Regions from separate parts of the Homo sapiens genome. Here regions 2, 3 and 4 are each linked to region 1. Evidence: promoter capture Hi-C in 16 types of primary human blood cells and fetal thymus (Javierre and others, 2016). All regions are on one chromosome and are shown on one strand. Each heading gives the region's core, a stretch centred on a gene start or on the middle of the fragment in contact. The rest is flanking DNA. Distances are from core to core; before and after follow the strand shown.

Evidence for each region. Contacts are between HindIII fragments. The CHiCAGO score rates a contact against its expected background, and 5 or more counts as called.
Region 2: a contact is called between a fragment that was not itself captured here and the fragment with the promoter of GORASP1 in region 1, in 1 of 17 cell types (fetal thymus). The highest score is 5.4, in fetal thymus.
Region 3: a contact is called between a fragment that was not itself captured here and the fragment with the promoter of GORASP1 in region 1, in 12 of 17 cell types (total B cells, naive B cells, activated CD4 T cells and 9 more). The highest score is 13.2, in total B cells.
Region 4: a contact is called between a fragment that was not itself captured here and the fragment with the promoter of GORASP1 in region 1, in 5 of 17 cell types (total B cells, neutrophils, naive B cells and 2 more). The highest score is 9.9, in total B cells.

Annotation. Positions count from the first base shown.
Region 1 is chr3:39,105,843-39,109,125 of GRCh38, reverse strand. GORASP1 (golgi reassembly stacking protein 1) reads left to right here and starts at 1,499. Exons shown (of 9, transcript NM_031899.4): 1 at 1,499-1,647. The coding sequence starts at 1,585. TTC21A (tetratricopeptide repeat domain 21A) reads right to left here and starts at 1,446. Exons shown (of 29, transcript NM_001366900.1): 1 at 1,262-1,446; 2 at 1-41. The coding sequence starts at 1,288. RefSeq lists a silencer at 1,550-1,869. The HindIII fragment of the contact is 2,080 bases long and covers 457-2,536 here.
Region 2 is chr3:39,347,238-39,350,520 of GRCh38, reverse strand. No RefSeq gene overlaps it. Among named protein-coding and RNA genes, the nearest start is that of CCR8, 19 kb to the right of the region's middle. RefSeq lists a silencer at 2,889-3,099. The HindIII fragment of the contact is 2,916 bases long and covers 234-3,149 here.
Region 3 is chr3:39,267,010-39,270,292 of GRCh38, reverse strand. All of the region lies in intron 1 of CX3CR1 (C-X3-C motif chemokine receptor 1), which reads left to right. Among named protein-coding and RNA genes, the nearest start is that of CX3CR1, 11 kb to the left of the region's middle. The HindIII fragment of the contact is 3,259 bases long and covers 1-3,192 here.
Region 4 is chr3:39,248,169-39,251,451 of GRCh38, reverse strand. All of the region lies in intron 2 of LOC102724104 (a long non-coding RNA gene), which reads right to left. Among named protein-coding and RNA genes, the nearest start is that of CX3CR1, 30 kb to the left of the region's middle. The HindIII fragment of the contact is 9,853 bases long and covers 1-3,283 here.

The DNA of each region.
Region 1 (3,283 bases), core at 250-2,749:
TGGTGGAAGTACTTTTCCTGGCTATAGTAAATGATCCCAGCCTGTATGAAGGAAGACATAACTGCAATAGCCCAGTCCCTTCTCTGTCTCTGTTCTGTCCCAGATGGGATGAGACCTGCTCCCTTCCCTATCCCCTGCTCCTCCTCAGTTCTGCAAAGGGAAGAGAAAGAGGAAACATTCAGGCCTCATCCTGTCCTCTAACAGCCCTGGGAGCAGCTCCATGCAGTTTTCCCAGGAAAGAGTTTGGAGGTGTTTGTTTGGGGGATTACCAACAGATTCTGGTTCAACTATGATGGGGAATTCAACCAAGGCTTTGTCTTAGGAAGGGAATAAGGGGGGAAAAATGAGGACAAATAATAAGAAAAATTATACGAATTGTAGTTACAAGTTATTGTGGGCTTCATATCCACTATCCTGTGCATGGTCCTCTCAGTATCTTTCACAGCTAAGGAAGCTTAAGCCCATGGAAACTACAGCTTGACAAAGGGGCTGAGATTTTAAAGTTAAGTTTCACTTCCTCTAAGGTTTGTGGGTGCTAGGTTGGGAGCAGATGTGGTTGGACTGTAAACATCCTCATGGGCCATATGAAAGAGCCCAGACACCATCCTAAGGGTAACAGAAAGCAGAATGGTTTTAAGGCGAGGGATGTTTTCAGATGTACATTTTTGCAACAACCACTCTGGCTGCTTTTGCATGTGGGGGGTGTGTGCCGTGGTGGCAGCAGGGACTACTGATGCTGAAAAGAGCCACAGCAGAGAAACCAGATGGGAGGGAGGCTGTTGCAGGCTCTCAGGGGGGAGAGATGGTGCTGGTTCTGGGCTAGAAGATAAAAAGATAAAAAGAAAACCCAGGAGACATCAAGGAGCTGGCATTTCTTGTAGACAGGATTAGAAGATGAGTATAGGGAAGAGGTATGAGTTAAGGCTAGGAGATTAAATGGTGAAGCCATCAACTGGGGTGGGAGGCGCAGGCGAGAGTGAGCTGGGTGGAAGAAGGGATGATGACAAGAAGGGATAATGATAGTGATTGGATGAGCTGGTTTGGGGTAGCTCAAGAAACGGGGATGCTAATTTGGGGCTCAGGGTGCGCAGAAGCCACCGGAGAAGACGCCCTTGCCAGGGGGAGTGGGGCAAGAAAAGGCAGGACCGCCTGATATAACTGAGGACAGCGAAGGGTGGCAGGAGAGTAGCAGGGCAGACGGTCTCTGGGTCAGGGGCGGGGAGTCACGAGGGAGCCCTCGGACAGCGCCCGGGCCACGCACCATAAGGGAGGAGTCATTGCTGCTCATCTCGGGCCGCTCGCGGCTCCGAGTCCGGGTCTGGTGGGGCGGTGCAGAGCGGGATTCCCGAGGCAGGGTCGTGGGCACTCTATCGCGGCGGGCGGTTGAAGGCGTTACAGTCCTTGGAAACCGAGCTGCTAGCCGGTTGCTAGGAGCGTCCAGTGTCTGGAGTGGGAGGAACAAAACGCCTCACGTCACAAGGCGCAGGAATCGAGCGCCGAGAGAGCGAGTCGGTGCTACTGGCGTCGGGTCGGTCCGGGTAGGCGCAGCGGGACTGGACCTGGGTGCCGAGCGGAGCCGCTGCCATGGGCCTGGGCGTCAGCGCTGAGCAGCCCGCAGGCGGCGCCGAGGGCTTCCACCTCCACGGGGTGAGTTGCCGCCGCGGCGCCGGTGACCTTGGCGAGGCGCCCGCAACCCCGCGCCCGGGCGTCCGGTCGCCGGCTGGCTGGCGACTGCGGCGGGGTCCCGGCCCGAGTGTTTCCGCCTGGGTGGCGGGAGGTGCCCCCTGCCCGGTGGGAGCCTCCTGGGAGAGGCGGCCTCGCGGGACTCCCGGACCCTGGCTAGTCCGCGGCCGCGGTCGGGCCCAGCGCCCGCCCCAAGTGCCAGCAGTGCCGGAAGCGGAGCGTTTTCCTGGTCCGGCCGCCGGGAATGGCGCTCCTCCCGGGTGAAGAATGCACCACTACCAGTCGGGACGCACTCGTGCACTTAGCACACATTTACGCTCGCCTGCCGCGGGCCGCTCTCCGTGCTGGGCCTGGGAAGAGAGTCAGCCACGCCGAGGACAGTCCCGGGGGCCGGGGTTAACCGAGTGGACGCAGCTGCGGGGGAGCCCGTCGGCGCGCGTCCTGCCAGTCGTAGGGTCGTAAGGGCTTCCGAGGGTAGAGGACCGGTGCAAACCAGCCACGGGATAGTGGGGAGCGGGAGGGCCGGGAGAGTGCTGCAGAATCCTCGAGGAGAGCGTTTGCAGCTGGGGAGGGTCCCAGCCTTTAGATGCCGCTACATGGAGGTCTGGGCGAGCAGGCTTCCGGAGAGTGGAGACGGAGTGGGGTTCCTAGAACGGAGTGTGCTGTGAGGGTGAGGAGAGGGTCCCGCAGCCGGATGGAGATTTGTGCCTGCGGTGAGGGAAGGGCTATAATGTAGGTGAGAGGGGCTGGGGGTCTCTGACCCCGGAGCGCTGCGGGGAAGAGGCGTCCCTGCACCCCCCCTTTCCCTAGTGAAAGGCAGCTGGATGCAGAGATGAGTGGAGACAGGCAAGCTTGTCGGTTTGTGTGTTTTGAAGGTAGGGTCTGTTGCCAGCTAACCACATGAGAGGGCTAAAAGTTTCTTAACGTGAAAACCAGGCTGGCTTGGAGAACCCAGAGTTGACAGGATTTGTGCTTGGGAATGGGCTTTCTTATGGTGAGACACCAAACAGCAAGCGTGGACAGTGGAATGCATCCAGCCAGGAGCGTCTTCCAACAGGTTTGATTAAAGGCAAAGGAACTCAGGATATTGGCAAGAGGAGGGGTGGGGCGATGATGGGAGCTTCGAAGACGGGAGGGGCCTGCCTGATGGAGAGGGACAAATTGGAGAGGGACCAGGGATCAGAGGTTGTCAGTCACAAAAACAAAGTTTTGAGCTCCTACTCTGGCAGGCAGAATTCTAAGGCTCTAGAGATAAAGCAGTGAACAGAACAAACATGGTCCCTGTTCTGGAGCTGACATTTGGATGATGGTAGGGAAAGAAGGGAAATGAAAAAATACATGGTAGGTGGTAATTACCAGTGATAAAAATAAAGCAGGTTAAGGGGATACAGAATGGTGAGTGGGTGCTATTTTTGATAGAGTGGTCAGGAAGGGCCTCTTCTCAAGTCACATTCGAACAGATGCTTCTGAAGGAAGTAAAGAGTGGACAATACAGATATTTAGGGGAATAGTAGTATTCCAGGCAGAAGGACCAGCTTGTGCAGAGGCCCCGAGGTAGGTTGTGCTTGTGTGTTTGAGGAAATGCCAGGTGAGGCTGGTG
Region 2 (3,283 bases), core at 442-2,941, 240 kb before region 1:
AAACATGCTTATACTACACATGGGCACGGCAAACCTTCCTCTGGGCCTAGACATTTGCAGCATTTGCAGTAATAACATAACAACAGAACAATCAGTATTGACAGAATTATAACTAGGCTTATAAATTGTATTTACATTTACTTATCCGGAGATGGTCCTCTTAGCTTTGGCTGTGCGTAGACTAGTCAGCTTCCGGGATGTGACTAGAGCAGATCTTGCAGGATCCTCAAGCTTTAGCCATGTGTAGACTGACCAGCTTCCGGTGTGGTCAGAGCAGGGCAGTTGTCCTTCTTACTGGTGGTTGGGTTTTGCCATAGGACTATTCAGATGGGGTGATCTGGGTCTTGTTGGTTAATCCACTGGTCATCATCAGGAGTTACTGCTGCCGCTGGTTTCAGCTGGCTATGGTGAATCCAAGGTGTGAGACCTGCAACTTTAACAGCAGTGGGAGTAGACATGATTACAATATGGGGCCTATCCTGTATGGGTTCTAGAGTGGTTGGATTCCATTTTTTAACTTAAACAAAGTCCTTAGCTTTGAAAGGGTGTACCGGGTCTGTTAGACTTATAGGCATTCTTTTTCATACCTAGCCATGCATCTTTTACATGGCCATACTTAAAGCCTGCATTTGCCTTTTTAAAGTTAGTTCTCTTAGTTTACAGAGATTACCTTTAATCTGACCTATGATGGGGGGTGGCCGGCCGAACAAAATCTCATAGGGCGAATACCCAGTTTGTTTGGTGGGGGTGCACCTGACTTGGAGGAGGACCATGGGCAAGACCTGATCCTACTTTAGATGAGTTTCTTGACAAAATTTCTTCAGCAGCTGTTTGAGTGTTCAGTTCATGCATCCCACTTTACCTGAGCTCTGTGGCCTGTAGGTTGTATGTAATTTCCATTTTATTTTTAGTAGTCGAGTTAAGTCTTGAACTATTTCAGCCACAAGTGTTGGTTCATTGTCTGATCTTAGAGTTAGAGGCAGTCCAAATCTGGGAATAATGTCTCTTAACACCTCGGTTACCTCTAGTGCCTTCTCTGTCCAGGTGGGGAAGGCCATGACCTACCCTGAAAAGGTGCAAATGAACACCAACATGTACTGATAGCCTCCCTCTCAGGGCAATTCGGTGAAGTCCATAAGCAGTTTTTCACAGGGCATGGCTTTTGTTTTCTGATCTCCCGGGGGCCAGGTAGGCCTTTGTCGTGGATTGTTCTGAGTGCAAGTTAAACACTGCTTGTTTACAAATGGCTTGAGTAATGGCAGTGAGCCATGGCATATAGAAGTGATGCCTTAATAATGTCTTTAGTGCTGTTTTTCTCCATGTGAGTTCCTTGGTGGAACTCTTTTACAAATCTGGGGGCCACCATTTCAGGTATGGCTAGCCTCCCATTGGAGAATTTTTACTATCCTTTTTCAATGTAGTTTTTATTTTTCTGGGCAAATTAAGCCCTTTCATTTGGAGTAGCTCAGGATCTCCAGGAGGGGAATCTCTGGGAGGAGAGGCATAGCTAAGGCTTTCTTTTTAGAAGGTGGAGTTGTCATTGCAGCCTGCTTTGCCTCTTTGTCTGCCTTTCTATTTTTTTAGCCTTTAGTGTTCTTGCTTTTTGGTGCCCTTTGCAGTGCATCACTGCCACCTCTTTTGGGGCCTATACAGCATTTAAGAGCCATAGAATTTCTTCCTTGTACTTTATTTTTTTACTTTCAGCAGTTAAAAGTCTTTTCTCTTTGTAAATAGCCTCATGAACACGCAAAGTGGCAGAAATATATTTGGAATCTGTGTAAATATTTGTCTTTTGGTCTTTTGCTAGCCAGAGACTTCTTGTGAGAGCTATTACCTCTGCTTTTTTTTTTTTTTTTTTTTTTTTTTTTGAGATGGAGTCTCTCTCTGTCACCCAGGCTGGAGTGCAGTGGTGCCATCTCGGCTCACTGCAAGCTCCACCTCCCGGGTTCACACCATTCTCCTGCCTCAGCCTCCCGAGTAGCTGGGACTACAGGTGCCCGCCACCATGCCCAGCTAATTTTTTGTATTTTTAGTAGAGATGGGGTTTCACCATGTTAGCCAGGATGGTCTTGATCTTCTGACCTCGTGATCCACCTGCCTTGGCCTCCCAAAGTGCTGGGATTACAGGCATGAGCCACCATGCCCAGCCGCCTGTTTTTTTTTTTTTTTTTTTTTTTAATCTGGTATATGATCATACCTTACTGTTTCTTTGTATACCTTGTTATTTTTTGTTGGGAATTTGACCTTTCAGATTATGTGTAATATCAATTCTGGGTACCAGTTTCTCCACCCCCAGAGCTTGCTATTGCTATTTGTTTATTTATCAGTTTATTGGCTGGCTGGATTATTCTAGTAAAGTTTAAACACTCTCCCCCAACCCCCACAGTGCTAATGAAGCCTCTGACATTGCTCCTCAGAAAGACAGTTTTGGGTATGCCTACAGTTATCCTGGGATGACAGTGATATTGGTAAAGGCCACTTCTCTTTCTCTGACCACACCTAGATGTTAAATCTTCACTAATTGCCTGCTGATTGCTCCACTGTTTTCAACAATGTCCTGGGGCAAAAATAGCTTTATAATCTAAACCAAAGAAATTGTATTTCCTTTGAAAGAATAGTTTCTGAAGTCAGTGTTTGATATTTATTCTGCTCCTGGACAAGCTCCTGTCAGCTGCCTTTTCCCCTAGCTCTTTCTGAAGCAGCCTCGTTGTCTGAGATAACACCCGAGATTCTTTGTCTCATGGCCATGGAGATCAAGAACACAGACACACGCAGGGTGAGGTTAGAGCAGAAATTTAATAGGTGAAAGGAAAAGAACAGCTCTCTGCTACAGAGAGGAGTCACATATGGGTTGCCATACTGCAGTAAAACATAAGGTGTTTCATAAATGAGCTAGTGGGGAGGGGGTATCTTATCTATGTAGAGCACAAAAAACTGGTTGGGATCAGGTGTGCCATCTGCATAGAGCAGAATCTCTGGCAGCCCCCATCCCACTCTTTTGTCATGCAGGTGGGTTCTTAGCTTGGGCTCCTCCTATGCTGGGTATCTCCTTCCCACTCTGCATGAGTTAAAAAGAGGAGGGGAATTTCCATGCCTGGTCCTAGGTACCTCTTTGCAGCTGCAGGCATCCCCCCACCCCCATGCAAGCTTCCAGCTTTCTTATCTTAGTTTGACCCCAAAAAAGGGAAAGGAAAGTGCTCATTAAGACCCACTCTTTTTACTGGGACTCATCATATGTATGTGAAGTTTGGCGATTACCCAGAAAGCACTCCCTCTGTGCAGG
Region 3 (3,283 bases), core at 314-2,813, 160 kb before region 1:
TTAAAGTAATTTAATTCTTATGCTCTCAACAAACCTAAGAGGTTATTTTTTTAGAGGAGGAAGCTAAGGCTGTTGTTTTGATGCCTTTTTACCACTGGACTTGGGACTCAACTGTTTGATAGTCATCGAGTCCTTGACTCTTCTCCCCTGCCAGGATTTGGCCCCTAAGCCCAGGGCCCGAGTCTCCTCCATCTTCAAGGGAGAGTGGGAACAGCACAGGCCTTGGCCTCAGTCCTGCTCCCCCTGCTTCTAGCTGTGGGATGGGCCAGGTGCTTCACCCAGCTGTGCCTCCTGTGAGGCACAGTGTGTGCAAAATGGAAATGTGAACATGAAGATCAAAAATGTCCCTCAATGACCAGTGCTGTTCCTCAGAGTCACGTGGGAACTCATAGAAAGCGATATTGGTACTGCTCTTTCCTCTGTAGCATGGTCCAGATGGCTCATAGCAGGGACCATGATATGCTGGGTGAGCACCCACTGCATGCACCCACTGTGCCAGCACTGAGAGACTCCTGTGGGAGCCACAGCAATTCTAGGGTCTTCACTGGGGACTCTGAGACAGCAGGGAGCTAGGATGAGGGCTGCAGAGTGTTCGTCTGCCCTCACTGAGCAGACCCCCTGGATGGCAGGGAGCAGTCCCAAGCCAGATGGATGCCCATAACCAGCCATTTGGCTCTCAATACATAATATCACCACGTATCAGGCAAAACCATCCTGCCCAGAGCATTATCTGAATTTGCATCCCATCTGCAGAAGATACATTCACCCACTTCTTCCATTCTGTCTTAATCAAAGTCTTTATGTGAATTTTCCCCATTGAGAAGACAAGCCCCTTCCTGGCTTAGACTGTACCTGACTGATCTTTTCATGAGCTCCTTGCCAAGCCAGACCACCCCCAGCTTATATGGAGACTTGGTGCAAATTAGAGATGCCCCTGTGCACGTGGCAGCCCTGAGCCCAAGCACCCAGTAAGGCAAAGGGCCTGATTTGGGACCCCTCTGCCACTCCACCAGGCAATCAGTTGCTTATTTCTAACTTTCCCTTCCTTCTCCACATTTGTCCCATTCCTTCCTCTCATCATGAATATCCCCAGAGGCATTCAGCAGTGCAGTGAATTAAATATAGAACTTTTTTTTTTCAGAATTGCAGAACGGATTAGATCAATATTAATCCAAACAGAGCAATGAGCCTGACAGTTTAGTAAAAGCTCAATAAAGGGTGGCTTACCTCCCCCAAAATAATCTGAAAAGAAAGCATGTCTTATTTCAGGGGGAAAAAAAAATAAAGTGACCTTTAAAGACCAAATTCCCAGGATACCCAGGGTGGAGGTGGAACATGGGAGTCCACAGGCAGCCTGGATGTTTCCAAAGATCCAAAGGGCTTTTGCTTCCTCACATAATGCAGGAAACAAATTGAACATGTATTAAGTGCTTGCTGTATGTGACACACTGTGCCAGGTGCTCCCCTTAAAACAGTTCTGTGGGCAGGCATGAGAATGAATCCCGATCTTACAGACAAGGAATGTTAGGCTCAGAGGTTTCAAGCTCACCCATCACTCAGCCAGAGAGGACAGATGCAGGATTCAATCTCGGGAGTGCCCGAGTCCACAGAAGTTCCTGTGCTGAAGGACCGACCACAGGCACATAAAGAGATGCGAGACAATTTTTACTGGATTTGGCCACCTCTCGAGGTCGGCTTTGCCAGCTCTTCTCACTGGGGGAAGGGGAGGGAGAAAGTAGCTAGCTCCAGGGTCCCTAACATAGAACCACCAAGGACTTGACTATTTTTACTCATACAGCAGCTTGTCTGGGAAGATCATGCTCTGTGACAAGCTGCAGGCACTAAGTAGCAATTTCTGTTTCCCACATATTAGCTTGAGTCATATAAAACTGACATGGATGTGGCTCAAAAATAGCTGTATGTCAGCCATTTTATACCATTTGACTTAAATGTTATTAATTAACGTCACAGCCAGAGATTATTCTCTGAGAAAAGGGCATTGTAGCCTGAAGCAGAGAAAGCATACACGTTCCCTGGGGTTGAGAACTCATCACAGCCTGAGACAGCTTAGGTTGTAAAGCCCCGGCCCACTTATCCCAGGAGAGTCTGGGTGAGATGCAGGCCCCAAAGCAGAGGCTGGGAAGCGAGAAGTGACACACCCTGGCTGGGTGGGCCCTCATCTTGGTGAGACACCACCTGGGTAAAACCATCATGGAAAGGGTGTAGTGGGGCGTGGAAACTCCCTCGGTTAAAGCGTGAGCTTTGCTGTAAGTTGTGGTAAGGAGGGAGGCAGTGACAACCAGGAGGCCTGTTTTGAGGGTTTCTGAGGGACCCATCTGTGGTATCACGAGGAGACGCCCAGAGGAGCCGTGTGAAAGGGCTGCCTCCCAGCCGGCTCTGGAGTGAATGAGCAGCAAGTCCTGGCTGCGAAAAGAAGGGGAGTGCAGCCTGCAGAAGTGTCTTCTTTTTTCAATTCCTGCTCAGAAGGAAACAGGAGATAAGAATAGTGGGGAAGTCCAAACCAAAGTGAACTATAGGGCTGGTAATCGTAGGGGGAATTAGTCACCCGGAGACTAGCCCAGCAGACTAACGGAGCCCCATCCTCCATCTTGAATCAGTCAGCCCCTCTATGACTGCAGAGTCCTGAATGATGGCAACACCTTCTCTTCACTTAGCGTTGTAGGATGACCAACAGTCCTGATTTGCCTGGGACTGAGGGGTTCCCAATAGATGGGACTTTCAGGGCTAAAACCAGGAAAGTCCTGGGCAGCCCAAAACAAGGTAGTCACTCTAGAGTGTATGACTCTGTCTGATACCTGCTAAGAAAGAGAAGGACTTGTTGATTATAAGGAGAAGAGGAGGTGAAATGGTTCTCAAAAAACAAAGATGAGGGCTTCCGGGTGCTGTTCTGCCCAAGGCTCTGGGTCTGAGGCTTCTCTCTCCAGGCCTAGCTTCATGGAAAAGTAAGGGGCCAGAGGGTGGAAAAGGTGGAAACAAAGGAAGAGGATGGAGAATTGCTTTGGGGAAGTTTGGACTGGAAGTGTGAATTACAGCTGCACCCCCAATTCACCCCATCTCACCCCCCTCCCCCTCCTGCTCATGGTTCTCCCTTTCTCATCCACACATTGGTCAAACTAGCTAGCTTTTGGAGAGATTTTGGGCAGTAAAAGTAAAACAGATCTGTCTCAAGCTTCAAAAAGCCTAGAGCTGGCTGGGCGCTGTGGCTCACGCCTGTAATCCTAGCATTTTGGGAGGCTGAGGCGGAAGGATAATCTGAGGTCAG
Region 4 (3,283 bases), core at 554-3,053, 140 kb before region 1:
CTACAAAACTTGAGGCAATTCATTTAATGTCTCTGTGCCCTGATTTTCCCATCTGTAAAATAAACATAGCAATGGTGCCCAGTGTTGGGGTTTCTGCTGTTTTGGCTCCTCCAAGAAGCAGGTGCTAAGATGGGAAGGAATTGGACGTATGAGAGATGTGTTAGGGAGAACACCTGTGAGGGAAAAAGGGAGGCTGTGAGAGGCTGAGAAGCCTCCAGACCACAACACAGGTCTGTTCCCTGTGTGGAAGAGATGGAAGGAAAGTTTTGGCAAGGCCACTGGGATGTCATGGAGCTCAGGTGATGTCTCCCAGGATTGGAACTGCCATGCTGAGTCCCTCGATGGGAAGCAACTTCAGGGCACAACGGTCAAGTTCTTCTGACAGTCGGAGCTCTGAGGAGCTCTGAGGGCACCTTCTCACATCTGCCATTGGGCTGTCACAGAATTTAAGGATTTGCCTAATTCTGATAGAAGTGTTGAGAATAGAGCTAGTCTTATTTATTTTGAGCCCCCATCATATTCCTCCCAACATCCAGCCTGCTGGAACAAACTGTCTGCTCCCCATGCTCCCACTCTCCCCTGCTCCTCCCTCCTTCAATAAGCCTCCTGTTTTTATTATTTTCCCCCTCGTTTTCTTCCTATTTTCTTTCTTTTTAGGTCTCCTCTCAGATCTGCCCTCCAGCCACAGTCCCCTTCCAGGAAGGGGAAAGGCCACAGAGGGGTAGGCGGAGGGGAGAAATGGCATTGGGCAGGGGGGGTGGGTGATGGGTGGGGTGGGGCACCGTGTGCAGCCCTAAATGTGAGTGAGGGAAGGCCCGAGGCTGATGCCTCCATATGCCTCTGCTTCCCCACACTGAACCTTCAGGAAGTGTGGGCCAAGCAGGAGTCTCCCTCAGAACCACAGCCATCCCCCCTACTTAGAGGACCTGTGCCTGAGCTTCCACCCTGGCTTACTTCCCACAGGAGGCTAGGAAGCCCTTGCTAATCAGCATCCAGCCTTCACCTGTCAGCTCCTAAAGAGAGAAGAGAGCAGAGAAGAGAGCTGAGAAGAGAGCAGCTCTAGGAGCTTCCAACATTTGTTCCTCCTGCCCGGCACAACAAAGATCTATTTTAATTCCCTCTGCTGGCTAGTCACTAGCATAGTGGAATGACATTAATCTCCCTTGTCAGGGGGAAGCTGAGGAAGCCAATACTTCTCCTTTGAGGTTTGAGTTGCAAAACTCTTCCTCAATCTCCAGCATTATAAATCCTGTTTTTACTTTCACAGCTATGTGCAAAATCCAAATAGCACCTTTCTAAAAATGAATAGAAGAAGCCATGTCTTATTCTGAAATTAAGTTTCCGAGGCTCTAAGAGGAGAGGACTAAGAGGGGCTATTCCAGCAGGGACACTGCTACCCTTGATGGGACACGAGAGGAGCTGTGCACCCTGAAGGATGACCTGACCCCCTCCCTTCTATTTCTAATTCAAGGAACATGGCCCAGGATGAGACAGTCTAGGAAATTATGCACACCCAAAAGGGTGGCATCGTCTGGGGAAATGTCAGCATCCCAGCACAAACTGACTCAAAGAAAGGAACTACCATCTGTGTGTGTCTGCTGAATACAGGCATTGTGCTAAAGTAATCTTAGCAATGTTGTCTGCAGCCCTTTATGGCTTTTGGTGATAGGTACCCAGCCACAGGGCAGTCCTGAAAGTCTGAGAAATTAGTCACAGCATCATTCGGGTCACACCATTGTGGTGGCTGTTACCTGCAAGAGGCTAACAAAGAGGTTTTAGGGTATGACTTCAGGTTGACCAAGTCAAGTGCATGATCTTTCCTGAGTTCATTCCTGGAGAGTGTCTATGTGACGGGTTCCTGCCTCAGCCCTCCTGGCAGAGAGCCTGTTTGGCTGAGCTGTCATGGTATCCACTCTGGGTGCTCTCTTCCTGCTCTCAGTGGAGGAGGGTGGCAGTTCATCACTGAGGTGTGAGTGAGCCTCAGATGTTTACGAGGAGGAGTTTCAGGCGCATATAACTCAAAGAAAACGGCTGGTCTTTCGGAACTTGCTAGCAGACCTACCTGCCACCCAGAACTAAATTCAATGAAACTTTATTTCATCCCTTATAAAGCATCTCTCATTTTGTGGACTGGGATTGATTCCTTCAAAAGTTGCCCTTACAGATACCACATCTGCAATGGTCCAATCATAAGGGTAACCACTCTTGGTAAACTATGTACATGCTTTGCTTGAGGGCATTAAAGATCAATATGTCCATGGACTGGCCTCTTCTCAAAACCCAACCACCAGCCAGTTGCCTTTACCATAACTCTTATCCTTAAAAGCCACATCTGATGGCATGGCCATGATGGCTAAGTTGGGTGCCTGATGAATCCAGACAGAAATTTAATAGTAGGCCCAAGTTACAAGATTCCAGTTCTGGAAAGTCAGCCCACGTCCATCTGAAAGAGCCTATGGTGCAGTGGTGACAGGTGGGAGCTCCCAAGGACACTGCCTGGTTTAAATCCCAGTCATTCCACCCACCAGCTGTGAGACATTGGGCAAGCTCTTCACACTTTTTGGTCTCAGTTTCTTCCTCTGTAGAATGAGAGTGATAATAACGGCTAACTTCACAGTGTAAGAATTAAATGAATTAGTATTTGAGAACTTCTTAGACCTGGACCTGGCACATGGCACAAATTCCACGCACACTGTTTGTGGTAGTGGTGAGGGTGATCATTGTTACGTATGTCCTAGCAGTAGAAAGTGGCCCAGGCTGGGATTTGAACATAGTACCACATTACTACCCAGCCACACTCTTTCCATGAAGCTGTTTTTTGTTTTTTGTTTTTGTCTTTCTTTTCTTTCTTTTTTTTTTTTTTGAGAGGGAGTCTCACTCTGTGGCCCAGGCTGGAGTGCAGTGGCGCGATCTCGGCTCACTGCAAGCTCCGCCTCCAGGGTTCACGCCATTCTCCTGCCTCAGCCTCCCGAGTAGCTGGGACTACAGGTGCCCACCACCACGCCCGGCTAATTTTTTTGTATTTTTAGTAGAGACAGGGTTTCACCGTATTAGCCAGGATGGTCTGGGTCTCCTGACCTCGTGATCCGCCCGTCTTGGCCTCCAAAAGTGCTAGGATTACAGGCGTGAGCCACTGCGCCCGGCCCACGAAGCTGTTTTTAATTTGGAAATGTCCGTTCCTTGAGATTCAAAACTAAAAATTAGGAACTGAAAGGTAGAGAATTCATCTTCACTGGGTATTACTGAGTGTTTTTACATCATGGCAGCCTTCCCTTTCAGCCTG